Linked DNA regions of Homo sapiens: regions 1, 3, 4, 5, 6 and 7 are each linked to region 2. Evidence: promoter capture Hi-C in 16 types of primary human blood cells and fetal thymus (Javierre and others, 2016). All regions are on one chromosome and are shown on one strand. The core of a region is centred on a gene start or on the middle of the fragment in contact, and the rest is flanking DNA. Distances in the headings are between cores, read along the strand shown.

Region 1 (3,710 bases), core at 1,005-3,504, 220 kb before region 2:
GAAGAAGAACCTCTATTTTGTTTTGAAAGTGGGCGTACCTGCCTTTCATTCTTGCCTGGACAGGCCACAGCCCACCTCAAGCTACTAAAGTGCCTGGGGGCCAGAGGCAACATGTTCCTTAAAGAAGCAGCTGTGGGTCAGCTCAAGTGTTTGGGCAAGTGTTCAGATAAAGCTCCAGAATACAGGGTCTTGGAGCATAAGAACATGATATTAGCCTAGACTGTTGGAAGGGTAGGTGTCCCTGGTCATTTACCGTTAGTGACCTTAGATCTGATGTTTGAGTAGCACGGACTTGGGGCTAGGGCTGAAGCTGGGCCCACATTACAGCCAGAGGAAATAGCAGAGATAAAGCAAAGGAGGTGGGATGTGTACAGCACTCCCAGCCAACAGTGAACAATCTAATTGGCTGGTACAGGGTGTCTGGGAAGGAGTTTGAGATTCCATTGCCCATCCGCATCCTACACTTGGCCTTTTGCCATTTGAGAAACTAATTAATAGACACATATTGTGATAGAGAGTGAGATTGTTGGGGATTGGAGGGTCCCCACCCATTCCAGGAATGACTGGAAAGGGTCTGCACTGACCGACTTAGGCTCTTCTTGGAAGATGTCACGTATTCTAGGAGAATTGTGACCAATTGCAACCAGACACACTCTTGGTCCTCTTGGTCCTTTTTTGTGTCATGGACCCTTTAGCAATCTGTTGAAGCCTTTGGTCCCCTTTTCAGAATAATATTTTTAGATGCATAAAATACAAAGGATTTAAATGGAAACCAAGTATAGTGAAATATAGCTATCAACTTTTTTTTTTTTTTTGAGATGGGGTCTCACTCTGTCTCCCAGGCTGGAGTGCTGTGGCACAATCATAGCTCACTGTAACCTCAAACTCCTGGGCTCAAGTGATCCTCTCACCTAGGCCTCCCAAAGTGCTGGGATTGTAGGCATGAGCCACTGCACCCGGTCTCCAACATATTTTTTAAAATTTGTGATGTCTGTGCTTCATTATTAGCACATTATATAACTAAATCTAGCTGTGAGTCTTATAACTATCACAATTTCAAAGCAATGATGAACATATTGCTATTTCAAGAGATGTGCTTCATTCTAATGTGATATGAAAATATGTGTAATTTCTGCTGGTGGCCAAGTCACAGGTCCTCTAATACTATGGTGGTTTATCACCTGCATTCATGATTGAAGGAAATGCTAAAATATAGTTAAAAGATAGCAGAAACAAAGATGTAGTTTTCCCCATCTAAGTTCATGAATCCTCTGAATTCCAGCCACAGACTACTTAGAGGAACAGGGACCCCAAGTTAAAGATCCACATAGCTTCCTGGTGTTCCTTTGTGGAAATTCCCTTTATCTTAGTCCATTGGGGCTGCTATAACAAAGGCCTGCAGACTGGTTGGCTTATAAACAGTAGACATTTATTTCTTACAGTTCTGGAGGCTGGGAAGTCGAAGATCAAGGCACTAGCAGATTTGGTGTCCAACAAGGGCCCAGTTCCTTCGTAGATGGCACCTCCTAGCTGTATCCTCACAAGGTGGAAGGGCCAAGGGTACTCTCTTGGGCCTCTTTTATAAGGTTACTAATACCATTCATGAGGGCTCTGCCCCCATGACCTAATCACCTTCCGAAGGCCCAGCCTCCTAATATCATCATGTTAGGGGTTAGGATATCAACATATGAATTTGGGAGGACACAAAAACTCAGATCATAGCACCTTTTGTCTCAAGTCTCCTTGCTGGAGGGCTCTTTTCCAGGATCATGGTTGGCGATTTGGTTTTTAGAAACAGGCTGAGGCCTGGCCTTCCCTCCACTGCACTCTTAGAGCCTGGGTTGTTTGGGTTTCTCTTGTGGCAGGTAGTACTTTCCACCTCAAGTAGGGTTCCTCTTTCAGCTAATGTCAACTGAACATCTGCTAAGTACAGGGCTCTGTGCTAAGCCCTGGGCATAGGAAGTTACTCCATAAAGAGATAGTTATCAGTAATAATAACTCCCATTTACCAAACACTTTTTACATGTCAGACACCATGTTGACACTTCATTCATTCATTCAGCAGAGATTTACCAAGTGCCTACTATGTGCCACTGTTCTAGAAGCTGTAGGTAGAGCAGAGACTAAGACAAACTCCCAGCTCACATGAAGCTTACACTCTAGTGGGGGAAGACAGATGATATACAAAATAAGTAAGCAAGTGAGTGTGCAAAAATAGGATAAGTGCTATGGAGAAAAACAAAGCAGAGAAGGAGGAGAAGGAATGCCCAGAGAGATGAATGCAATGTCCGATTAGTTGACCAGGGAAGGTCTCCCGGAGGAGGTGGACATTTCAGACTAGGCCTGAATGATGCCACTGAAGCTTTGCAGATATTTGAAGGAAGAGCATTCTAGGCAGAGAAAATAGCTAGGCACGGACCCTGAGGCAGGAATGTGCTTAGCTGTTTGAGGCATGTGGAGGAGGCCCGTGGGGCTGGAGAAGAGTGAGTGAGAGAAGGAGTGGTAACTACGAGAGCAGAGAGGAAATGGGGGTGGGGGCGGTGACAGATTGAGCAGGACCTTGGAGGTCTTATGGTGACCTTGGCTCTTACCCAGAGGGAGATGGGAAGCCCATTGAAGGGATTGAACACAGTCCCCACAACAATGCTGTTGCGTGATAGTATTAGTATTCTCATTTTCAAATGAGGAAACGACAGCTCAGAAAAGTTGAGTGACTTGGCTGGTGAGTGGCAGAGCTGAAACTGGACCACAGACCTTTCTGGAGGTCACATGCCTCCTCCCTCCACCAGCCCGAGGCTCGGAGTGGGGTCAGCATGTTCTCTACTCCCTTCTATTTCCTCCAGACTGTTGTTCCTTTGTCATTTCCCCAAGGACCATACAGTGCTCTCTGTCCACCATTCTTGCTGTATCCACCAACCTCTGCTACTGGACTATGAGCCCTTTACTTACTGAGCACCTGCTATGTGCCAGGTACTATGTTAGATCCTGAGCATAAAATGATGAATAAGAGAAGTCAGCTCCTTGCTCTCCTGGAGCTTTTATTCTAGTGGATGGGAAACACAGGTAGGTCAGAAAATTTTAAAAAGCTTTCTTTTTCTTTTTTTTTTTTTAGAGACAGGGTCTCACTCTGTCACACATGCTGGAGTACAGCAGCGTGATCGTAACTCACTGGACTCAAGTTATTCTCCCGCTTCAGCCTCCCAGGCGTGTGCCACCACACCTAGCTTTGTGTGTGTGTGTGTGTGTGTGTGTGTGTGTGTGTGTGTGTGTGTGTGTAGAGAGAGACGGGGTCTTACTATGTTGCCCAGTCTGGTCTAAAACTGGGCTCAAATGATCCTCCTGCCTCAGCCTCCCAAAGCACTGGGATTATAGGCATGAGCCACCACAACCGCCAAAAATCTTTAGTAATAAGAGCCATGCAGAGAAAAGAGAGTAGCTATTTTGTAAAGAGGTAGGGAAGGCCTCTGTGAGGAGGTGACATTTAAATTGAGATCTGGATCATAAGAAGGAACCATCTCAGAGGGAGAGCATTCCAGGCAGGAGGTATGAGAGCAAAGGCTCAAAGGTGGTCATGAGTTTGGCCTGTTAGAGGAACAGGAAGAAGATGCATGGCAAGGGATGGGAACATGGCAGGAGATCAAGGTAGAAATGCAGGGGCCAGATCAGGCAGGGCCTTCTAGGTCATGAACATATGGGAATCCACTGGAGTG
Region 2 (3,445 bases), core at 787-3,286:
GGATCACCTGAGGCCAGGAGTTCGAGACCAGCCTGGCCAACATGGCGAAACTCCATCTCTGCTAAAAATACAAAAATTAGGCTGGGCGCGGTGGCTCACGCCTGTAATCCCAGCACTTTGGGAGGCCGAGGAGGGCGGATCACGAGGTCAGGAGATCGAGACCATCCTGGCTAACACGGTGAAACCCCATCTCTACTAAAAATACAAAAAATTAGCCGGGCATGGTGGCATGTGCCTGTAGTCCAGCTACTCGGGAGGCTGAGGCAGGAGAATCACTTGAAACAGGGAGGCAGAGGTTGCAGTGAGCTGAGATTGTGCCACTGCACTCCAGCCTGGGTGACAGAGCGAGACTCCGTCTCAAAAAAAAAAAAAAAACAAAAATTAGCCAGGCGTGGTGGCGCATGCCTGTAATCCCAGCTACACGGGAGGCTGAGGCAGGAGAATCACTTGAACCCAGGAGGCGGAGGTTACAGTGAGCCAAGATCGCGCCACTGCACTCCAGCCTTGGCAACAAGAGCGAAACTCCGTCTCAAAAAAAAGAAAAGAAAAGAAAAGAAAAGAAAAGAAAAGAAATCAACAGTTACTAAATGCCACACAAAGTTCTGGGAAGCCAAAGACTGAGAGGTATCCGTTTTATTTAGCAACTTTGGGTGTCGCTGATCTTGTCCAGAGCAATTTCTGTGGAATAATGGGGCAAAAGCAAAATGGGAATGGATTACAAGAATGAAAAGAACGGGCCGGGCGCCGTGGCTCACGCCTGTAATCCTAGCACTTTGGGAGGCCGAGACGGGTGGATCATGAGGTCACGAGATCGAGACCATCCTGGCTAACACGGTGAAACCCCGTCTCTACTTAAAAAAAAAAAAAAAATTAGCCGGGTGTGGTGGCAGGCGCCTGTAGTCCCAGCTACTCAGGAAGCTGAGGCAGGTGAATGGTGTGAACCCGGGAGGCGGAGCTTGCAGTGAGCTGAGATCGCACCACTGCATTCCAGCGTGGGCGACGGAGTGAGACTCCGTCTCAAAAAAAAAAAATGAAAAGAATGTTCTTGTCTATTATTTTTCTACAATCATTAATTAATATATATATATATTAGGCCGGGCCCGGTGGCTCACACCTGTAATCTCAGCACTTTGGGAGGCCGAGGCGGGCAGATCACTTGAGGCCAGGAATTCTAGACCAGCCTGGCCAACGTGGCAAAACCCCGTCTCTACTAAAAATGCAAATATTAGCCGAGCATGGTGGCGGGTGCCTGTAATCCTAGCGACTCGGGAGGCTGAGGCAGGAGAATCGCTTGAACCCGGGAGGTGGAGGTTGCAGTGAGCTGAGATCACGCCATTGCACTCCAGCCTGAACGACACAGCAAGGCTCTGTCTCAAAAATAAATAAATAAAATTCTTAAAAGTTGATGGGAGAAAAAAAGTTGTTTAAAAAAATTTTTTTAAGTTGATGGGAGGTGAGGAAGCGTAGTTACTGATGGCCCCTTCTTGGATAAAAAAAATCTTTTGACTCAGGAAATGAAGAACAAAGCTGCAATTACAAGGGATCAAAGGCGATTTTTCCTTAAATGGAAGGAAACTTGTTATGTTCACCATCGGATCTCCGGGGCCCGGCACAATCTGGCCACTTAATAGGCATTCAATAAACCCCCGAGCTGGCTTGTGGTCGGCTTGCAGGACGCCGTCGCACAAGGACGGGCGCTGTAGTCTTTCCTTCTGGATTCTGCAGTGACGAATGAAGGCGCGGGCTCAGCCCCTGAGAGCGCAGCACCGTCGCCCTAAGCTAACCCACCTTGGGCCACGTGGAAACCAGGGGCCAGGAGGACAGACACCCGCGCGCCAGAGAAATACGGGGTGGGTGGAGAAAGGAATGCCCCACCCGCTGACAGCCGTTTCATCTCAGGCCTCCCAGTTTTCTGCAGGCCCCTCCCTACACGGCTCCTGCTTCTCTCACGCCTCGTACGGAACGGAAGTGACGTGTACGTCGCGAGCGATTGACGGAAACAGAAATTGCTTTGCGGCCCGCACGGAAATTGCTTTCCTTCGGCTTCCGTTCTTGGTCCATGTGAGAGAAGCTGGCTGCTGAAATGACTGCGAACCGGCTTGCAGAGAGGTGAAGGGCAACGAGGGGAGGGGGGATTCTGGGTCTCGTTGGGGGCCGGGTTCCCCAGCTTTTGGGAAATGGGAGCCCCCCCTTTAACAGATGGCAGTGGTTCCCCTGAAGAGCTGGCCATTCGTTCCTATTTTCCGCGATCCAGCCTTTAAAGCCCTTTTAATTTAATTTCATTCGCTTACTCCGCTCCTCAGCTGTATAGCCGCATCCCTGTTGGTCCTGATGCTGTTTCTGCCTCCCCAGCTCATTTACTGTGTTTCACATTTTTCGTCACGTGGCCCCTTTTTCTGCCTCTGTCGCGGCCCGATTTAATCCTCTGCGCAGGCAGTGCAGGCGTTATAAACTCCCCGAATCTTGGAAAGCTTTGCTGATTGGAGTCATCCACCACGTTTTGGCTCCTGTGATGTTTTGTGCCCCCCCCACCCCGCCCCCGGAACTAAATGTAGTCCGTTTAGTAATGTTGGCTTTGCAAATACTAATAATATATGCTGTTAGGTAATGGTACATTTTATAATTTGTTTGTGGGTACCAATCTCCTTAGTTAAGCACCTACTTTACTAAGCAAGCCCCAGGGAAAGTGGCTTACCCAGCTGCTTTCGACCTGTTTCTCCATTCCTGGGAACAAGGATCAAGATAACACTTTTGATTAGGCTGCCTATCAATGAGTCAAATATATGGAGGATGCTTAGAAATATTAATCGTGAAACTGCCTTGCCTCCAGGGCTAGCTAGCAACAGCGTCTTTGGCCATATTATTCTAGGGTCTGACATTTTTACAGCTTCCCATAGGTCATAGGAAATGTTGTGCCAATCCCTGAAAAGTGATAGCTCTTTTACATGCAGTTTTGAAGTCAGGCATCACTCTTGGAGGTGATGCCTGACTTCAGTCTAAATTTCACATCTTGACAAGTTTCCAAAGGCATTCACGCTGCTTTATATATCTTCTGAGGGATAGGGCTATTCTGTGCTGAAATTACAATGTTTTCGAGATTGTTTTAATAGATTAGACATTGCTTCAAATAATAATATTTCTTTTTTTAATTTCGACTTTTATTATAATTAAGGGATACATATGCAGGTTTGTTACATGGGTATATTGCATTCACATTTCTCTGTTGCCTCTTTTAACAGCCTTCTGGCTTTGAGCCAACAGGAAGAACTAGCGGATTTGCCAAAAGACTACCTCTTGAGTGAGAGTGAAGATGAGGTGGGTGACAATTGCTAAACTGCCTTCAAAATTAGGGTAGAGAGCACATTCCTGGAATGGAAGGGTGTGACAATGTTCTATGTATTTGTTCAGGTCTCTCAAATAAATTGCAAATGGTTAGTGTTTCATA
Region 3 (3,416 bases), core at 881-3,380, 210 kb after region 2:
ACCCGGGAGGCAGAAGTTGCAGTGAGCCGATATCACGCCACTGTACTCCAGCCTGGGTGACAGAGAGAAACTGCCAAAAAGAAAGAAAGAGAGAGCAGAGAGAAACTGCCAAAAAGAAAGAAAGAGAGAAAGAGAGAGAGAGAGAGAGAGGAAGGAAGGAAGGAAGGAGAAAGAAAAAAGAAAGAAAGAAAGAAAGAAAGAAAAGGAAAGTTGCCTATCGATTAGACTTTTGGAATGAGGAGTGTATTCAAAAGCTGGGAGAGAGGTTATGGTGTTAAAGGAAGCCTCCCACCTATAAATCTGAGAAACCCCCTATAATCCTTCCTATAAAGCCAGTACTCATTCTTCTGTTGCATTCAATAACCCCAGGTTTGCATCTGTTGGGTTTACATGACAAGGCCATGGGTATCCAAGTGGCACACAGAGATCTCCAAGTCAAGGTTGTGTCTGGTCAGCATAAGCAGTGTTTGTTCTAAAAAGCTTGTTGAATAGCTGCAAAACAGAATTCCTTTCTTCAAGCAGTGCCTGATAGCCCATCATGTTTTCCTGCAAATCACCCCAGGTCCTTTTTTTTTTTTTTTTTTTTTTTGAGACAGAGTTTTGCTCTTGTTGCCCAGGCTGGAATGCAATGGCGCGATCTCAGCTCACTGCAACTTCTGCCTCCCAGGCTCAAGTGATTCTCCTGCCTCAGCCCTCCTACCTCAGCCTCCCGAGTAGCTGGGATTACAGACGCCTGCCACCACGTCCAGCTAATTTTTTGTATTATTTTTATTATTTTGAGACGGAATCTCACTCTGTCATCCAGGCTCGAGTGCAGTGGCGGGATCTTGGCTCACTGCAACCTCCGCTTCCCGGGTTCAAGTGATTCTCCTGCCTCAGCCTCTCAAGTAGCTGGAACTACAGGTGCGCATCACCATGCTCAGCTAATTTTTGTATTTTTAGTAGAGACAGGGTTTTACTGTGTTGGCCAGGCTGGTATCGAACTCCTGACCTCATGACCCACCCACCTCGGCCTCCCAAAGTGCTGGGATTACAGGCGTAAGCCATCGCGCCTGGCCACCCCAGGTTCTGGAGACAAGGTGGCTGGTTTCTTCCTCCCTCTCCTCACTTAACTCCTTGGCATGTGGATCTGTGTGCAACATGGGCTGGTTATACCAAAGCTTTTCTTCACAGATGACGGTCTGTGGCCTTGGCCTGTACTGGGGATGGAGGTGGACTCAGGTTAAAGCACAGGCATGCAGATGAGAGGATGGAGTTGGTAGCCACTTCCCAGATCACAACTTTCATCTGCACCACCCTCATAGGCTGGGAGACATGCCTGACTGGGGCTCTTGGAAAGCCACTCGGTCCCTGCAGCCCACCCTGCTCAGTTTACAATCATTAAAACAGTTATACATTGGCCGGGTGCTGTGGCTCACGCCTGTAATCCCAGCACTTTGGGAGGCCAAGGTGGGCGGATCACGAGGTCAGGAGATCGAGACCATCCTGGCTAACATGGTGAAACCCTGTCTCTATTAAAAAATACAAAAAATTAGCCGGGCGTGGTGGCGGGCTCCTGTAGTCCCAGCTACGCGGGAGGCTGAAGCAGGAGAATGGTGTGAACCTGGGAGGCGGAGCTTGCAGTGAGCCGAGATTGTGCCACTGCACTCCAGCCTGGGTGACAGAGCAAAAGACTCCATCTCAAAAAAACAAAAAAACAAAAAACAGTTATACATGTCTCCTCCCAGCACCATGAAAGCCCCTACAAAACTTCAGAAGATCACCGGCTTTCAATTGTCTTCGAGCTGGACAGCAGCTCAGGAGGGCTGGCTGCCTGGAGGGGATGATGCCGACACAGGAGGCGCTGCTGGCTGTGAGTAGGTGCTCACCCTGAGCGTGGTGGCTGCTGGGAGGCACTACCCCCCAACCCCCGACAGCTGGGGAGTGGGCCTGTTGTTTGGGAAACAGATTCCGTGTTCTTCAGGAGGGCCCTCTGGGATGGTGGGAAATTTGGAGGGTGTGGGAGATGGAAAGACACAAACCTGTGGTTCATTTGAAAAGAAAAAAAAAAATGAGGACGAACTGGCTTTAGGCAGAGTCAGCAAATGAGATGAGGGCAAGCCCCCTGGAGTCTCTAACTCCACTGATCCCCAACTCCTACCTTGGAGCCAAAGCTCAGCCTGCAAAAGTCCCTGGGACCAGGGCAAAGAGGCAGGCACCTGCCCTGGGCTCCTATCAGAGGCATTGCAGCATTCAGGGGTTTGGGGCTTCTGTCCAGTGGTGCCAGAGTTAACCCCTCAGCCATGAATAACTGCTGGCCCAACACCTGTCCTGTGTCATCTCTTTGACCTCTGATGTGTCCTCAGAGTGAAGCTGGGGAGGCCCTGGCCTTAGCTGATCTCCCCACAGCCCGGTGCAGGCGGACCAAGATTGTCAACACAGGGAGGTTTTGCCGGAGTGAGCACAAAGTGAATTTCTGCAGGCCCTTGAGTGTGCTGGGGGATGGGGACACAAGTAGCCATCAAGCTGACATCTCTTCCTCAGATGGAGAAGAGACCCAGGGGAAGGGAGGGGCCTCCAGTCACACTGCACGGGGCTCTACGTATTATATAAAGTGAATGCCACTGCCCGGAAGTGTGCAAGCAGGTGGCAGTAAAGCCAGATTCAGGAGAGTTGGGGAGGGCACTTGGAGAGGAGAGATCAGGAGGGGCTCAGACTGGGACACCACAGGGGACCATGGGGCCTGGCCCCAGATATCCAGGACTAGGGATGAGGTAGGATGGGGGATTGTCTATGAGGGGAACTCATCAGCCCCCAATTTCATCCACTCTGCATCCTCCCAAGGGGCAGGCCTGGGCTGAGGTTTGTACCAGGAGGTAGACAATTCTGCTCTTTGGGATTGCCACAATCCACTGAGAAGTGAGGACAGGCCTGAAACATTTGCTAGACAGAGGCATAGCAGAGGCCCAGTGGAAATGCAGCCACTCTTCAGTTTCCCCACCCTGCCCCCACATCGGGGTTGAGGGTTGTTGTTGTTGAATGCAGAAAAATATAACAATGTGTATAAAGGTGCAGTATGAGTCACTTCACGGAATGTCTAGGCCCCTTTGCTGGCAGCAAACAAGCTTTCCAGCCCTCTTTTGAGGAAGCCATCCAACTCGGCGGCTGCTGCTGGTTTGTGTGTGTGAGGGTGTATGAGTGTGCATGTGGGTCTGTGTGCAACATGGCTCTCTGGGCCTTGCCTGCCTATGTGCGTGTCTGTGTGGGTCTCACAGATGTGAGTGAGGGCATAACTGTGTTCGGGGTGTGCATGTGTGTGCATATGCCTGTGTGTGTGTGGGCTCAAGTCTTGGATGTCGGGTCCCCTCGTGCATGCATGTGTGTTCGTGGAGGGCATGTGCACATGTCTGTCTGCAAAGCAGTATGGTATGTGAGCC
Region 4 (3,179 bases), core at 6-2,505, 250 kb after region 2:
AGGAGAATCGCTTGAACCCGGGAGGCGGAGGTTGCAGTGAGCCGAGATCGCACCACTGCACTCCAGCCTGGCAACAGAGTGAGACTCCGTCTCAAAAAAAAAAAAAAAGAAAAGAAAAAAGACCAGGTGCAGTGGCTCACGCCTGTAATCCCAGCACTTTGGAAGGCCGAGGAGGGTGAATCACCTGAGGTTGGGAGTTAGAGACCAGCCTGACCAACATGGAGAAACCCTGTTTCTACTAAAAATACAAAAAATTAGCCGGGCGTGGTGGCTTATGCCTATAATCCCAGCTACTCGGGAGGCTGAGGCAGGAGAATAGCTTGAACCCAGGAGGCGGAGGTTGCAGTGAGCCGAGATTGTGCCATCGCACTCCAGACTGGGCAACGAGAGCGAAACTCCATTTCAAAGAAAAAAAAAGAGAAAAAGAAAAAAGAAAAAAAATGCAAAACCCACTCATGGCTCCTGGGGCATACAAAAGCAGGTGACTGACTGGCTTTGGCCTGTGGCTGTAGTTGGCAGACCCCGATCTAGAGCAGTGGTTTTCAAACTTGAGAGTGTATCCCAATGCCCTGAAGGTTTTATAAAACAAAGCTGGCCAGGCCCCAGGCCCAGAGGTTCTGATTCAATAGATCTGGGATGGGGCTCAAGAATGTGCATTTCTAACAAGTTCCCAGGGGATGCTGCTGTTGCTGCTGCTGCTGTTAGGGTGGGGACCACACATTGAGAACCATCTGTCTAGAGCAGGTATATCCTATCTTTTGGCTTCCCCGAGCCACATGGGAAGAAGAAGAATTGTCCTGGGCCACATATAAAATACACTAACACTAACCATAGCTGATGAGCTAAAAAAAAAAAAAAAAAAAAAAAAAAAATCGCAAAAAAATCTCATAATGTTTTAAGAAAGTTTACAAATTTGTGTTGGGCTGCAGGTTGGACAAGCTTAGTCTAGAGGCTGATACTTATGTCCCTGTCCTGTCTAGGCTTTAAAAGACAAACAGAATGGACACTGGTAGTAGCATCCCATGTATACTTGCAGAGATTAGAGAAGGAATTTCCCCCTTGCTTTCATAACGTTAGGCCACAGACGGGTAAAAACAAGCCCAATGTGGATCTGTGGTCTCTCATCTGAAATCCTGGGGACCATGTATAATTTGGAACTTTGAATTATCTGGTCTTAAGTATATGGGGCATATACCACATAGTGACACCTAGCAAGGTAAAGGGCAGCAATTCATAGTTAAACATATTAATATGACCAATCACGCTAAGTGATATTTTAAAAAGATTATAAAGTAGCCTCTCTCCAGTTCAGGTCAGGTTTTACTGGCAAATGAGTTATGAAAACTTGATAGTCTTAAATTTTGGTCATTCTACAATTTCAATTTCTGAATTACAGATAAGAGACTTTAGATCTACACTCTTAGAAAAGGAAATGTATTTTTCTTTACTGTTCTTCTTACCTGCTTTTAGAACTCTTCATCACCACATGAAATAAAATGGTTGAGATTTGGAAATAATGACAAATCATGAAAATAAAAACGTGAGCGGGGCAGAAACTTATCTCAATCTGGGCAAGCTTTTGATTTTCAGAAGCTTACAAAAATAATGAACCATCAGAAGTAGAAAGTGGTAACTCTCAGAGCTTAGAAAATGAAACTGGTTAGGAAAAGTTCCATGTGATTTAGTTCAATGAATTTAGTTTGTCCTCCACCTCTACCCCTGGTTCATTTACTAAAAATAAATTTTTTTTGTTTTTGTTTTTCTTTTTTTTAATTCTGTTTATTCCTCCAGAAGACCCTAAATACAGACATTATAACAAATTTGTTTTAATATCATACTCATGTTTATTCTCCTTCTGCTTGCTTTTCACAAACTGATAATACTAACAGTGTAGATTTAGGAAAGTTCAGCAGCTTTTGTCTCAATTTGCCAAAAAAAAAAGAAAAAAGCATTTAAAAGTAAATGGACTTTTTTTTTTTGAGACAGGGTCTCACTCTGTCCCCAAGCTGGAGTGCAGTGGCACAATCTCGGCTCACTGCAACCTATGCTTCCTGGGCTCAAGCCATTCACCAGCCTCAGCCTCCTGTGTAGCTGGGACTACAGGCGTGAGCCACCAACGCCCAGCTAATTTTTCTATTTTTTGTAGATACGAGGTTTCACCATGTTGTCCAGGCTGGAAAAGTAAATTGACTTTAAAAAAAAGTAAACTGGTTAATATTTAAACTACTGCTTGAAAAGAAATGTAATACACTACTCTCATTAATAAACCAACTTTTAAAACTTTTTATATACCTACAAAGTGACTTTAATTTTGTAAAATGTACTAAGTATTGTTTGCTTACATTCCCCCTCCCCACATTTTCTTTTCCCTATGAAATTCCTCCCAAACCTTTCTCCCCATAGCTTCAAAATTTTAGGAAATATTACATCGTGACTGAAACATGCCTTTTCACTTGTCTTACTAACATGGAAAAGCCAACTTACTCCTTGACTTTTCATCATGGCAGCAGTTTACTTATTTTAGGTTTTCTGCAGTCAGACCACACATACAATGCAATTTCTTCCTCACACTTAGGATTTCATTCTTAAGAAGCCAGTTTGACCTGTGCAACAGCGCCAGACGACACACAGATGTTTGCTCAATAAATATTTGTTGAATTAATGAAGGAAGGAAATAGAAATTCTTCCTAATTCTATTGATATTGACTGAACATTCTTATTACTATTAAAATTTTTTTTAAATGAAAAGGTATCAGTATGTTGCCCAGACTAGACTCAAACTCCTGGGCTCAAGTGATCCTTCCACCTTAGCCTCCAGAATAGCTGGGACTACAGGCATGCACCATCGTGCCCGGATAACTGAACATTTTAAATAATTCTTTGCAAAGAAATTTTAGCCAGGGCAGGCGCGGTGGCTCACATCTGTAATCCCAGCACCTTGGGAGGCCGAGGTTGGTGGATCACTTGAGACCACGAGTTTGAGACCAGCCTGGCCAACATGGTGAAACCCCGTCTCTACTTAAAAATAAATAAATAAATAAATAAATAAATAAATAAAATGAAAAAATAAACTTAAGAGTTTTTTTTAAAAAAAGCTTTAGCCAGATTCCATTTATTTTAGGTTGCTTAATCATAAATGAGTAACCTCAAACACCATAGACCAGCATTAGAATAGTAGC
Region 5 (3,609 bases), core at 38-2,537, 230 kb after region 2:
ATTTCTTCATGGTAAAATTCCTTCTATAAACAGTGGTTCTCAATTGGTGGCAGTTTTGTCCCTATCTTCCCCAGGAGGACATCTGGCAATATCTGAAGACATTTTTGGTTGTCAGGGCAAGTAGGTGCTCCCAGCATTTAGTGTGCAGAGGCCAGGATGCTGCTAACATACTACAATGGCATAAGACAGCCCCCACTACAATTATCCAGCTCAAAATGCCAATACTGCAGAGGCTGACAAGCCTTGTTCTAGGAAGAACTTAAAAGACAGTACACAGCCTGGCCAACAGGGTAAAACGTCCCTACTAAAAATACAAAAAAAAAAAAAATTAGCCGGTCGTGGTGGCACATGCCTGTAATTCTAGCTACTTGGAAGGCTGAGGCACAAGAATCGCTTGAACCCGGGAGGCGGAGGTTGCAGTGAGCCAAGATCGCACCACCGCACTCCAGCCTGGGTGATAGAGCGAGATTCAGTCTCGAAAAAAAAAAAAAGACAGGACAAATCTTATCCCTGAAAAATGACAGCAGTTTTTATAAGCACAGTGTTAAGAAGCAGAACACCTCCTTGCTTTTTATTTAGGTACTCTTAACTTTTTTCTCAGAAGTCTCTACACAGCACTTGCAATGAAAAATGCCAAGAGGCTGTAAGGGGTTCCAATGAATCAAACACATCAGGAAAAAACAACTATGGAAGAGCAATCAGAAGGATCTATTGCAAGCAATACAAACACTCCATTTTTTCCCTAGGAGCTTAAAACCCTTGAGTGAGGTATCTGAGGTGCAGAGAGAGGAAGTGACTTGTTCAAGGCCAGATAACAAGTCTGGAGAAGAGCCATAAATAGAACTTGGATCTCCCAAGTCCCGGGTGGGCACTTGGGGACTGCAAGATTATACTACTTCTTCAAAAACAACACAAGGAAAACACTAAAGCAGACAATTACCTTTCTGAAAAGCGTTGTTCTACTCTTCACCTCTGCTCCAGCCCTATCAATGGCAGACAGACTTCTTGGAGTACCTCCTGGAAATAAGAGAAGGAAAACCCTTTAGCCCAACAAGCAGGAGCCAGCCCAAACAATACTCCCTCCACCACACAAAGGTGGAGCCCTCTTCACTTAGCACCATGGCGGCAACAACAGGATAGGATACCAAGGCTTTGTTTGCCTTCAGCTTGCCTCACAGCAGGCTTTCTGTCAGTTTCCTTTGAGAAGCAGATTTGAGAGTCTGTCTTCAAGGGGTACACCCTGCCCCTAGGTGGCCAAAAGGCCTTACTTTTGGCTTCCATGTTCTCTTCTAGTTTCTCATGAGGATTTGCCAGCTAGCATAGCTACATGGGTTTGATAAATTGCTTCTGTCTCCTCTCTTGGTTTCTGATTGCAACTGGCAATGAAGCCACAAACGACATCACTTTCAAGGCACAGGGCACAGGGTGAGGGTTAAGCAGGGAGAGAAAAAAGGGCAACTTCTTCATGCCTCTACCGGGAGAACAGCAAGGATCATCCAGAAGGGCTGGTGATCCAGGATGCTTTGACACAGCCAGCTTTTGTACCAAGAGAAGACACTCACTTCAGAGAGTCTGGGTTTCCATTTTCTTAAGTAGTAATGCCTTCCATAGAGAAGGCTGGACTCTAAAACTTGAATGAGCTGTATCAGGGAAGAAAGCCATCTCCAGAAATGCTCACCTGTTGCAATCAAGCACTTTTCATAGGTTATTTGAGAGCCATCATTAAGTTTCACCATGTTGTCTCTCACATCCAGCTGTACTACCTGGTACAGTCACACACATACACAAAAGAGGTAGAGATGAATTAGCATTGAAAAAGTTTTATTGAGATATAATTCACATCAAATTCACCATTTTAAAGTGTGGAATTCTGTGGATTTCAGTATATTCACAAGGTTGTGCCACCATCACCACTATCTGATTTCAGAACATTTCCATCACCACCCCAAAACTCCAGGTCAATAAGAAGTTGTCAGCCCAGGACAGGCACAGTGACTCATGCCTGTAATCCCAACACTTTGGGAGGCTGAGGCAGGCAGATCACTGAGGCCACGAGTTTGAGACCAGCCTGGCCAACATGGCGAAACCCCGTCTCTACTAAAAATACAAAAATTGGCCAGGTGTGGCGGCATATGCCTGTGGTCCCAGCTACTGGGGAGGCTGAGGCAGGAGAATCGCTTGAACCTGGGAGGCAGAGGTTGCAGTGAGCCGAGATCATGCCACTGCACTCCAGCCTGGGCAACAGAGCAAGATTCTGTCTCAAAAACAAAACAAAACAAAAAAACCCCAAAACCACAACAACAAAAACAAACAAAAACAAAAACAAAAAAAGTTGTCAGCCCAATAAGAAGAATGAGTTCTTGACCTAAAGCGATCCTTAAGAAACCATATCCAAGTAATCATGGGAACCACAGTTTCTGGTACCCAGTTTTTTTAGGCAGTCATATGTTGGAAATTGGCAATGAGAAGGCAGGCAACATTAGAGCAAGTCATGACAGTCCCAAAGCCCTGACCCATGTGTGGAAAAGGAGAATCGGAACAGCCTTTCTTATATGGCTGTTTGGAATTACTTATTATTACTTTATTAATAAGTCTCCTACATCTACAACATTTTTACAGAATGCTTTCTCCAACTTGTAGCCTTCACGGAAACTTGGCTCTCTCTTAAGGAGAGCTTACACATAGAGGCTGTTCGTTCCCCCACACTCCACATCACAAGGCCAGGAGGAGGTGTTGGCATTCTGCAAGCTTCTTGAGGTTACTGGTCTGCTGCTTCCAGATTCTTGTACTTTCATTCTCTTCTGAGGGACATCAGAGGAGTCCTATATTCCTACGAATCACTGTTTTGAGCCACCTCCTGGCTACTCCTCCTGATTCACTGAAGACCTTGGAACCTGGCTCATACTTTTCCTCATCTTGTTATCTCCTAAACCTCTCCTCCTACCTCAATTATTCTACTTGTTGGTCACAATTTTCCATCCCTTCAGCTTTCGCTCAGTCTGTCTCCTATGCTTGCTTTCAATTTTCTCTGTTTATTTGACTAGCTGCTCCATTCTAACTAATTTGGGCCAATGGTAGAACACCCAAACTGTTCTTTTGCCAGTACCTTTAATTCCCTTGCACCCTACTCCTTCTTATGGTTAAGAGCTTGAGCTTTGGAGTCAGAGAGAATAGGGCCCCAGTCTTTGCACCACTCTTTACTAGCTGAGACCATTCAATTAAGCACCTACTATGTATCAAGTTGAGACAGTGATCCTTGCTGCTTTCAGAGTTTAGTGGCCAAGACAATTTAACAAGCACTAACAATAATCAAGAGTGACAAATGTGATGTAAGTGGTAAGAACAGTGCAGGTAGCGCTGGGAACATATGACATGTGCAATCTAGTCAGGTTGGGTTGGGTAAAGCTTTCTAGAGGCAATGACATGAACTGAGATCTGATGGATAAGCAGCTTCTTTAGCCTCCTTTGATTTGTCCTTGGTAAGCTCCCTCTTCAATCCAATCCCGCTACTCAACCCTCACGGTGTTCGCTCTCAGATAACCATCTTATGTTCTATTGTATTGCAAAAACAAATGAAGCCATTAGATGTGATCTTCCATAGCTTCCCAT
Region 6 (3,553 bases), core at 410-2,909, 160 kb before region 2:
CTGATCTCAAGGAAGACACACATGGTAGGACCATCAGACAGAACCCCTGGCTGGAGAGCCTGGGGCTGGCCCTGAAGGTGACCTCTGCATTGCTTCCTATCTTTCTTTCAGTTGGCACCACTCCTATTGTCACCTGGCTCCTCACCGAGATTCCTGCTGGAGGGCGTGTGGGTTTTGACCCCTTCCTCTTGTCCATTGGTATGCTCTTCCTTCAGTCCCTGAATTTGTCCATGCTAACGAGGGTGACTCAGCTTCCCTAGGATATAAAGAAATGGACCTTGGTAGAAGGAGGGGCGGTGGGACTATAAAGATAGAGCATTTGAAATTGTAGTTGCAGAATGTTTTGCAATGAGGATGTATTCATGGATTGTGTAATTAAAATACATTTAAAAGAATCAGTACAAATATTTTAAAATTCATGAGTGCAGAGACCCAACCTAGAAGACTCAGTGAATCATTAAAGAGCTAGTGGATGAATAGGCCAGGATGTGCTTGAACCCAGAACCATCCTCTGTGCCCTGGAACCCTGCCAATGATGATGCTGGAATCACATGGTAACCCTCTTCTGGAAGGTAGCTTAGAAGGGTCAAAAGAGTTGGGAGGGCTTCTGAGTTTAAAAAAAAAAGGGCCCCTGAGAATACAACTCCCGGAGTTCTGGGGCCTCAGACAGCTGGCAAGCCCATTCCCCCAAAGGGGAGTCCTCATGAATATGTACTGAAAGGCTTGTGCTTTAGAACTGGCTTCTCTGCCAGCCTGTCCAATGGCCTGAACATCACCATTCCTTTTGACTGTGACACTGAAGCCCTGATAAAATAATTAGTGCCCAAGAGAAGGACCACCCACAGCCACTGGCAATGAAAAAGACAAGCTTAGCCAATTTGTGGCAGTCAGTGTTAGAGTAGGCTCAGGGCATTAGGCTTGGAAAGCAGAAAGAGGATGAGAAACATACCCCAGCGTGGGCATACATGCCGGGGGTGGGGGGTGGGCAGGCTGCTGGGGCAGGCTCCGGGCAGCTGGGCTGCAAAGGGAGGCAAAGGGAACCAGGACTAACTTTGCCTGAATCACAATTTTTTCCTGGGGTGTAAATGGGCAAGGGACAAGTGACTCCTTCTTGTCTCTGCAGACACCTGGGAGAGTTATGATCTGGCCCTCCAAGGCTCTAACAGACAGCTGGTGTCCATCACAACCAATCTTGTGGACCTGGTATGGGGATCAGAGAGGCCACCGGTTCCAAATCAACCCATTTATGCCCTGCAGGAGGCATTCACAGGTGATTCAGTAAGCCCAGTTTCCTTCCCAACTTGTAGCAACGCAGGTCCCGGCTGCTATTCCGTAGGTGGCAAACTTCATCATCAGAGGTACCAAAGCAGTGGTTTGCAAACCTTAGCATGCACCTGAGTCACCTGGGATGCTTGTTTAAAATGCAGATTTCAGGGCCCCCTCCCCTTGAGGAGTCTGAATCAAAATGTCCTCCGGCCATATTTAGAAAATGTTGGGTTAAAGAATGTTAGGATTTGAAACAAGATGGAGCAGGAAGGGAGGAAAGAAGGGAAACAGAGAAAGATGAGAGAAAATATCCAACCCCTTTCAAGAGAGAAAAAATCATGATATGATTTGCTTGCCTGGTGGCAGAGACTGATCCATAATGAATCATTCAGACCTTTACTTCTGACCCTCTTGTGATGAAGAATTTAGATTTGTGAGATGGCTGGGGTCAGGTGGGCCAGGAGTGGACAGAGGAAGTAAATAACTAAGTTCAGAGTCATTCTGTAGCACAGATTACAGTTCAGGTTTTGCTGGACCAATCAGGAAGGTTAGAAAAATATAACATCAATAACCTTGACCCCGTTGACACTATCTAAATCCATCACAAAAGAACAGTATGTTGTAAGATTCCTGTAAGTCGTAACTAAAGTCCTGACCAGGACCAGCCTACTGATTATGAATCAGTGTCTTGGCCACCAACCAGTCCTATCTCCCTGGGAATTCTGAATGAGCCAATGAACTTGGATTCCTAGTAACATTGATCAAGCCAAGAGATCCCTTTCCGCATGCAAGTCCACATAATTTCTCACTTAGAAAGGAGCCAATACAGCAGGAGGGAGATTTCAAAATAGCAGCCATGACGAAACAAGTGAAAATTGTGTCCATTTTTCTTTATCTGTTCTGATGTAACTTCCAGAATCATTCTTTCTGCATCTTGACACCATTTTTAAAGAAATTTGTTATCCAAGACTGTTAAATCATAAATAAAACTCATCTTATTCAGATAAAGAAAGTCAAAGTTATGTCGGGAAGGGGAAGGGAAAAAAGAAAAACCTTCCTGGGGCTGGAAGGGTTTTGTCACTTCCCAAAAGTGAGGGGATGCCGAGTCATCACCCGCTGCCAGTCTTCAAGAAAAAGGCACCTGGAGCTTGAGTTTGGAAGCCGAAGAACAGAGTTCAGCTTCAATAAGCTTATAAAGACGAGAGAGACTTTCCAGCCACTTGCAGATTTTAAAGGAGAAAGGAGAGTGCAAAGGGCAGAACATGAAAAGTTCGCTACTCAAACATACCTGTACGCACCAGACCATTGAAATTTGGGTTCATTTGGTTTCTCAGAAAGGTATCATATTCCTGAACCTTGAAAACATAATTGCAAGTGAAAGAAGCCAGTCAGAGAAGGCCACATATTGTACAATTCCATTTGTATGAAATATCCAGCACTGGCAAATCCATAGAGACAGAAAATAGATTAGGGATTTCCTGGGGCTCAGGGGAGGGGGGATAGGGAGTGACTCCTTAGTGAGTACAGGGTTTCCTTTGGGGATGAAGAAAATGTTCTAGAATTAGATCGTGGCGATGGTTGCACAACATTGTGAGTATGCTGAAAGCCACTGAATTGTGCACTTTAAAAAGATTAAAATGATATGTTTTATGTTATGTGTAAAATACACATAACATAAATTATGTGTAAAATATGTAGTAAAATAAACCTACAAAAATGTATTGTACCCAAAGCTTTGGTCATTGTTGAATAGTTTTACCTGTTCACATGAAATATTTTTCACGACATTAAGTTATTTATGCTCATATCTGAACCCAACTAGGACCCTTAATGTTTATGGCCTTCGGCCAGCAAACTCCTAGTCCTGCCTAGGGGTAGACTCTTTGAATATCTTGCAGGGGGCAGGGATAGAAGATGAAAACTAAAGTCATAGAACCCAGATATAAGCATCTGAGAAAGGACGGTGCTGTGACACAGAGTTTAAGGACAGATTTGGAGACTGAGAATGTTATCAAGACAGTACGGTGTCTGTACAGATTAAGAGCGTGGGCCATGCAGTCAGACAGACCAGAGTTCAAATCCCAGCTCTACCTCTTGCATCCATGAAACCCTAGACAAGTCACTTTACCTCTCTGAAGCCTCAGTTTCCTTATCTGTAAAATGGGATGGGTAAGAATTAGAACAATGCACATGGAGTGCTTAGCCCAGTACCCGTGGCTTAGTAAATACTGGGGTTACTGCAGAGAAAGTTGAACACGGCCCCAGCCCTACCCCTTTGTCCTTCAAC
Region 7 (3,515 bases), core at 778-3,277, 240 kb before region 2:
CTGCATAGGCACAACAAAATGACTGTGGTTAGGCACAGGATTCTCATTCCATAGGCCAGCGCTTTTGGAGCATCTCAGAATGAGTCTTCCCATTGTCACTCATCTAATTTGTTCCTTAAGACATAAGCTAAATTAATGAGCAAAAGAAGTTCAGTAGCAGCAACATCGGGAAAAAGTATTTAAGAAGAACTTCAAAGCTTACCCTGCCTCTGAAGCTACTTAACAGGAACTTGGGGGAAAAAAGCATGGGCCAGCTGCTAGTTGATGCCTCACTAACTAGCTTCATGACAAATTATCTTTGCTCAGTTAACCACCACAAGAGAACATGAATTTTTCACTCTCTCATTACTGAGTATTTGTCTTTCTGATACTAACGGCTAGAGTTGAGCTTTCTAACTCATCTATAACCACCAGAGCAGCCAGCACAATGCTTGCCATAGAGTAGTAGATGCTTAAGCCATATTCATGGGTTCACTTTCCCATTCTGGGTGTGAGACCATTTAAATCAGAGACATGATGTTCATTATGTGAAACTTAGCCTGGAACTTATTCTGTGAATCAAAAGATCCTAATAATCATTTTGAGGGAATAATCTCTTTGTTGGACTTTGCTGGGGTTTCTTCTTCAGCTAACTGTGTGATTCTTGTCTTGATGTCCAATACCTCTTAATTCTGATCACCAGCTAGGTCCTAAGCCTGGCCACAGACCGAGATCTTGTCTTTCACACTTGCCCTCTTCCCAAGCACACAGAGTCAAATACTAACCATCACACGGTATCAGGTTTGCAAAAATTAGAGAAGTAGCCATTTTGCAGCATAACCACATTATCTCTATTCACATCTCAAGTGTTTAATACTATATTCAAGTCACTACATGCTAATTCCTTCCATGGGACACCTTTCAGCCACTGCCACATGGGCTCCAACTGCCCTGGAAATGCTTATTCCATTTCTCTGTTTCTTCCAACTTCTTTGCAAACTACATACCTTCTCAGATCGTCTGATATATTCAAGGAACACCAGGGGTTCCCACAGATACGCCTTCCTTGACACAACACCCAAGTTCCTGAAAAATGTTGTCAGTGGAATTCAGATAATCAGCTATATTTCAAATGTCTTTGAAGGGTTCACAGTTTATTAGCTGAATAAGTCCTAAGAGAGATTCTCTGAGGTGAAGAACTGTTCCTCTGTTCCTGCCCCCAGCCCAGCCCAGCTCCACAGAATTACCCCCTTTTCCCTACATCCTGCTTCATTCCTTCTGATCCTCTCCCATAGCCACACAGGTCCCCATTCCTCCTGTTTGTCTTTCAGAGCAGTTTCATTTCCTCTGCATATCCTCTATGACGTCTCCCAGGAGCCTCCATCCTTCCTCTCCCCTACGGTCTATAAATACCCTGGTCTCCCAGGGGAGGCATGTGAATTCCTTCCTTACGCAGCAAGGCCCTGTGAGTTAGGATAGCCACTCCCAAAGGAGCAGGTTTATCTCCAAAGTCCATTGAACCTTTCTTCCTCTTGCTTTGCTGGTTAATATTATCTGGGCTTATATCATGTAAGATATTATATGTCTCAAATCTGGCACCTTTGTTTGCAGAGCCAGGGCAAAGACTGTTGAGGACACGGTATTGAGTCTATGACCAGTTCCGTTATGGGCTTAGAGTTCTGGGATAATAAGGTCAAAGTCAGAGAGATAATGAGGTCAGCTTTGTTCTATCCCAAACTCAAGTTTGGATTGACACCAGTCACTACCTGAATCCTAACCATGGCCACAGACTGAGATCTTTTGAGGTTCTTACTTTTTGACTTTCATACATTTCCCATACACATAAAGAGAGAGTCAAATATTGTACTAAAATTTAAAAGGTAACACTTCTGGAGAAAAAAGAAAGAAAACTAGCCATCTTACAGCAAAACTCCATGTGTTAATTTCTCAGGGCTGCTATGACAGATTACCACAAACTTCGTGGCTTAAAACAACAGTTTATTTCTTCTCACTTCTGGAAGCCAGAAATCTGAAATCAAGAAAGCTCTAGGGTGAGAAGTTTATGATAAATTAGTGAAGTGATAGATGTGTAAATTAGTTTGATTGAATCTTTCTACAATGTATGCATAGATCAAAACCTCACATTGTACCCTATAAACATGCACAATTATCATTTGTCAATTAAAAATAAATAAAGATAAAATGAAAGTGTAAGGGAGGATTCTTCCTTGCCTCTTTCATCCCCTGGTGGCTCCAGGCATTCTTTGACTTAGGGCTGCATCCCTCCAATCTCTGCCTCCATCTTCATCTTCACATGACCTGACCCTTTTGTCTATGTGATATCCTTCTGCCTCTCTAGGGTCTCACTCTGTTGCCCAGGCTGGAGTGCAGTGGTGTGATCATAGCTCACCATAACCTAGAACTCCTGGCCTCAAGCAATCCCCCTGGCTCAGCCTCTTCAGTAGCTGTAGCTACAAGCACCACCACAACCAGCTGATTTTTTATTTTTTATTTTTTTTGTAAAGACGGGTCTTGCCGTGTTACCCAGGCTGTTCTCAAACTCCTGGCCTCAAGTGATCCTCCCACTTTGACCTCCCAAAGTGCTTGGATTATAGGCGTGGCTGCCTCACTCTTATAAAGATTGTCAGCAATGGATTTAGGGCCCACTTGGATAATCCAGTATGTCTCTCTTGAGATCCTTAAACTTCTTACACCTGCAAAGACCATTTTTAAATGAGGTGTCAAATTTACAGGTTCCAGGGGTTAGGACATAGACATATCTTTTCGGGGGCTACTGTTCAACCCATTACACCCCACTACCTCCATTTACATTTCTGGCATGCTGGAATCAACACAGCATGAACTTTCTGCCAATTTAACCTCCAAATATCTGTCAAATCTACACGTCTCTATGTTTCTGCTGCCCTATTCTTGTTCCAGCCCTGTCATTCCTCACACATCATTCTCCATAGCAACCAGAATGGTTATGCCAGTTGGCTTGAAAACCTTCTGTGGCTCATGGCTCTTAGGACAAGACCAAACTCTTAACCATGGCATGCAAGGCCCTGCATAATCTAGCCCCTACCCACTTCGCCAGCCTCTTCTCTTGCCTCTTATCCTCTTTCTATCTGCAATGCCATGTCCCTCCTGTCACAGTGCCTTCCCAATACTTTTTCCTCCTACTGAATGATTCTCTGCTCTACCCTGTCTTCTCCTGGCTAATGCCTATCATCAATCAGCTCATCTCTAATGTCAAATCACTCCTCCTCAAGAGATGTTTTCCTTGGCCCTCAGACTGGCTGAAATTCCCCTGTAATCGCTTCTCATAGTTCACAATTCAGTTTGTGTTCAGTTAATGTCTGGCTCACCCCATCCACCCCTCACTGTCCAACTAGACTGAACTCCATAAGGGCAGGGGCCATGGCTGTCTGGTTTCATGACTGTGTCCTCAGCATCTAGCCAGTGTCTAACTCATAGTAGGTGTTCAATCATTTTCCCAATCAATGCATATATGAATGAATGAATGAATAGGTCTG

The links. The method cuts DNA at HindIII sites, captures the fragments that hold promoters and counts their contacts. A CHiCAGO score of 5 or more calls a contact.
Region 1: a fragment that was not itself captured here is called in contact with the fragment with the promoter of UTP14A in region 2 in 9 of 17 cell types (activated CD4 T cells, total B cells, non-activated CD4 T cells and 6 more); the score reaches 13.1 in activated CD4 T cells.
Region 3: a contact is called between a fragment that was not itself captured here and the fragment with the promoter of UTP14A in region 2, in 5 of 17 cell types (neutrophils, M0 macrophages, non-activated CD4 T cells and 2 more). The highest score is 8.3, in neutrophils.
Region 4: a contact is called between a fragment that was not itself captured here and the fragment with the promoter of UTP14A in region 2, in 11 of 17 cell types (activated CD4 T cells, naive CD4 T cells, naive B cells and 8 more). The highest score is 11.6, in activated CD4 T cells.
Region 5: a contact is called between a fragment that was not itself captured here and the fragment with the promoter of UTP14A in region 2, in 1 of 17 cell types (activated CD4 T cells). The highest score is 9.1, in activated CD4 T cells.
Region 6: a fragment that was not itself captured here is called in contact with the fragment with the promoter of UTP14A in region 2 in 5 of 17 cell types (activated CD4 T cells, neutrophils, M0 macrophages and 2 more); the score reaches 7.5 in activated CD4 T cells.
Region 7: a fragment that was not itself captured here is called in contact with the fragment with the promoter of UTP14A in region 2 in 11 of 17 cell types (activated CD4 T cells, non-activated CD4 T cells, neutrophils and 8 more); the score reaches 18.1 in activated CD4 T cells.

Annotation. Positions count from the first base shown.
Region 1 is chrX:129,681,294-129,685,003 of GRCh38, forward strand. No RefSeq gene overlaps it. Among named protein-coding and RNA genes, the nearest start is that of APLN, 28 kb to the left of the region's middle. The HindIII fragment of the contact is 211 bases long and covers 2,150-2,360 here.
Region 2 is chrX:129,904,128-129,907,572 of GRCh38, forward strand. It overlaps UTP14A (UTP14A small subunit processome component), which reads left to right and starts at 2,037. Exons shown (of 15, transcript NM_006649.4): 1 at 2,037-2,109; 2 at 3,240-3,315. The coding sequence starts at 2,084. LOC105373335 (a long non-coding RNA gene) reads right to left here. Exons shown (of 3, transcript NR_188631.1): 3 at 3,137-3,445. The HindIII fragment of the contact is 20,573 bases long and covers 1-2,469 here.
Region 3 is chrX:130,115,534-130,118,949 of GRCh38, forward strand. It overlaps a transcript of RAB33A not described here. Among named protein-coding and RNA genes, the nearest start is that of ELF4, 6.7 kb to the left of the region's middle. The HindIII fragment of the contact is 1,944 bases long and covers 1,159-3,102 here.
Region 4 is chrX:130,157,861-130,161,039 of GRCh38, forward strand. All of the region lies in intron 1 of AIFM1 (apoptosis inducing factor mitochondria associated 1), which reads right to left. It also overlaps a transcript of RAB33A not described here. Among named protein-coding and RNA genes, the nearest start is that of AIFM1, 6.4 kb to the right of the region's middle. The HindIII fragment of the contact is 637 bases long and covers 938-1,574 here.
Region 5 is chrX:130,138,855-130,142,463 of GRCh38, forward strand. AIFM1 (apoptosis inducing factor mitochondria associated 1) reads right to left here. Exons shown (of 16, transcript NM_004208.4): 7 at 1,679-1,763; 8 at 941-1,017. It also overlaps a transcript of RAB33A not described here. Among named protein-coding and RNA genes, the nearest start is that of AIFM1, 25 kb to the right of the region's middle. The HindIII fragment of the contact is 2,918 bases long and covers 1-2,746 here.
Region 6 is chrX:129,746,484-129,750,036 of GRCh38, forward strand. It overlaps XPNPEP2 (X-prolyl aminopeptidase 2), which reads left to right. Exons shown (of 21, transcript NM_003399.6): 6 at 112-198; 7 at 1,124-1,270. Among named protein-coding and RNA genes, the nearest start is that of XPNPEP2, 9.3 kb to the left of the region's middle. The HindIII fragment of the contact is 1,587 bases long and covers 867-2,453 here.
Region 7 is chrX:129,661,977-129,665,491 of GRCh38, forward strand. No RefSeq gene overlaps it. Among named protein-coding and RNA genes, the nearest start is that of APLN, 8.8 kb to the left of the region's middle. The HindIII fragment of the contact is 3,664 bases long and covers 196-3,515 here.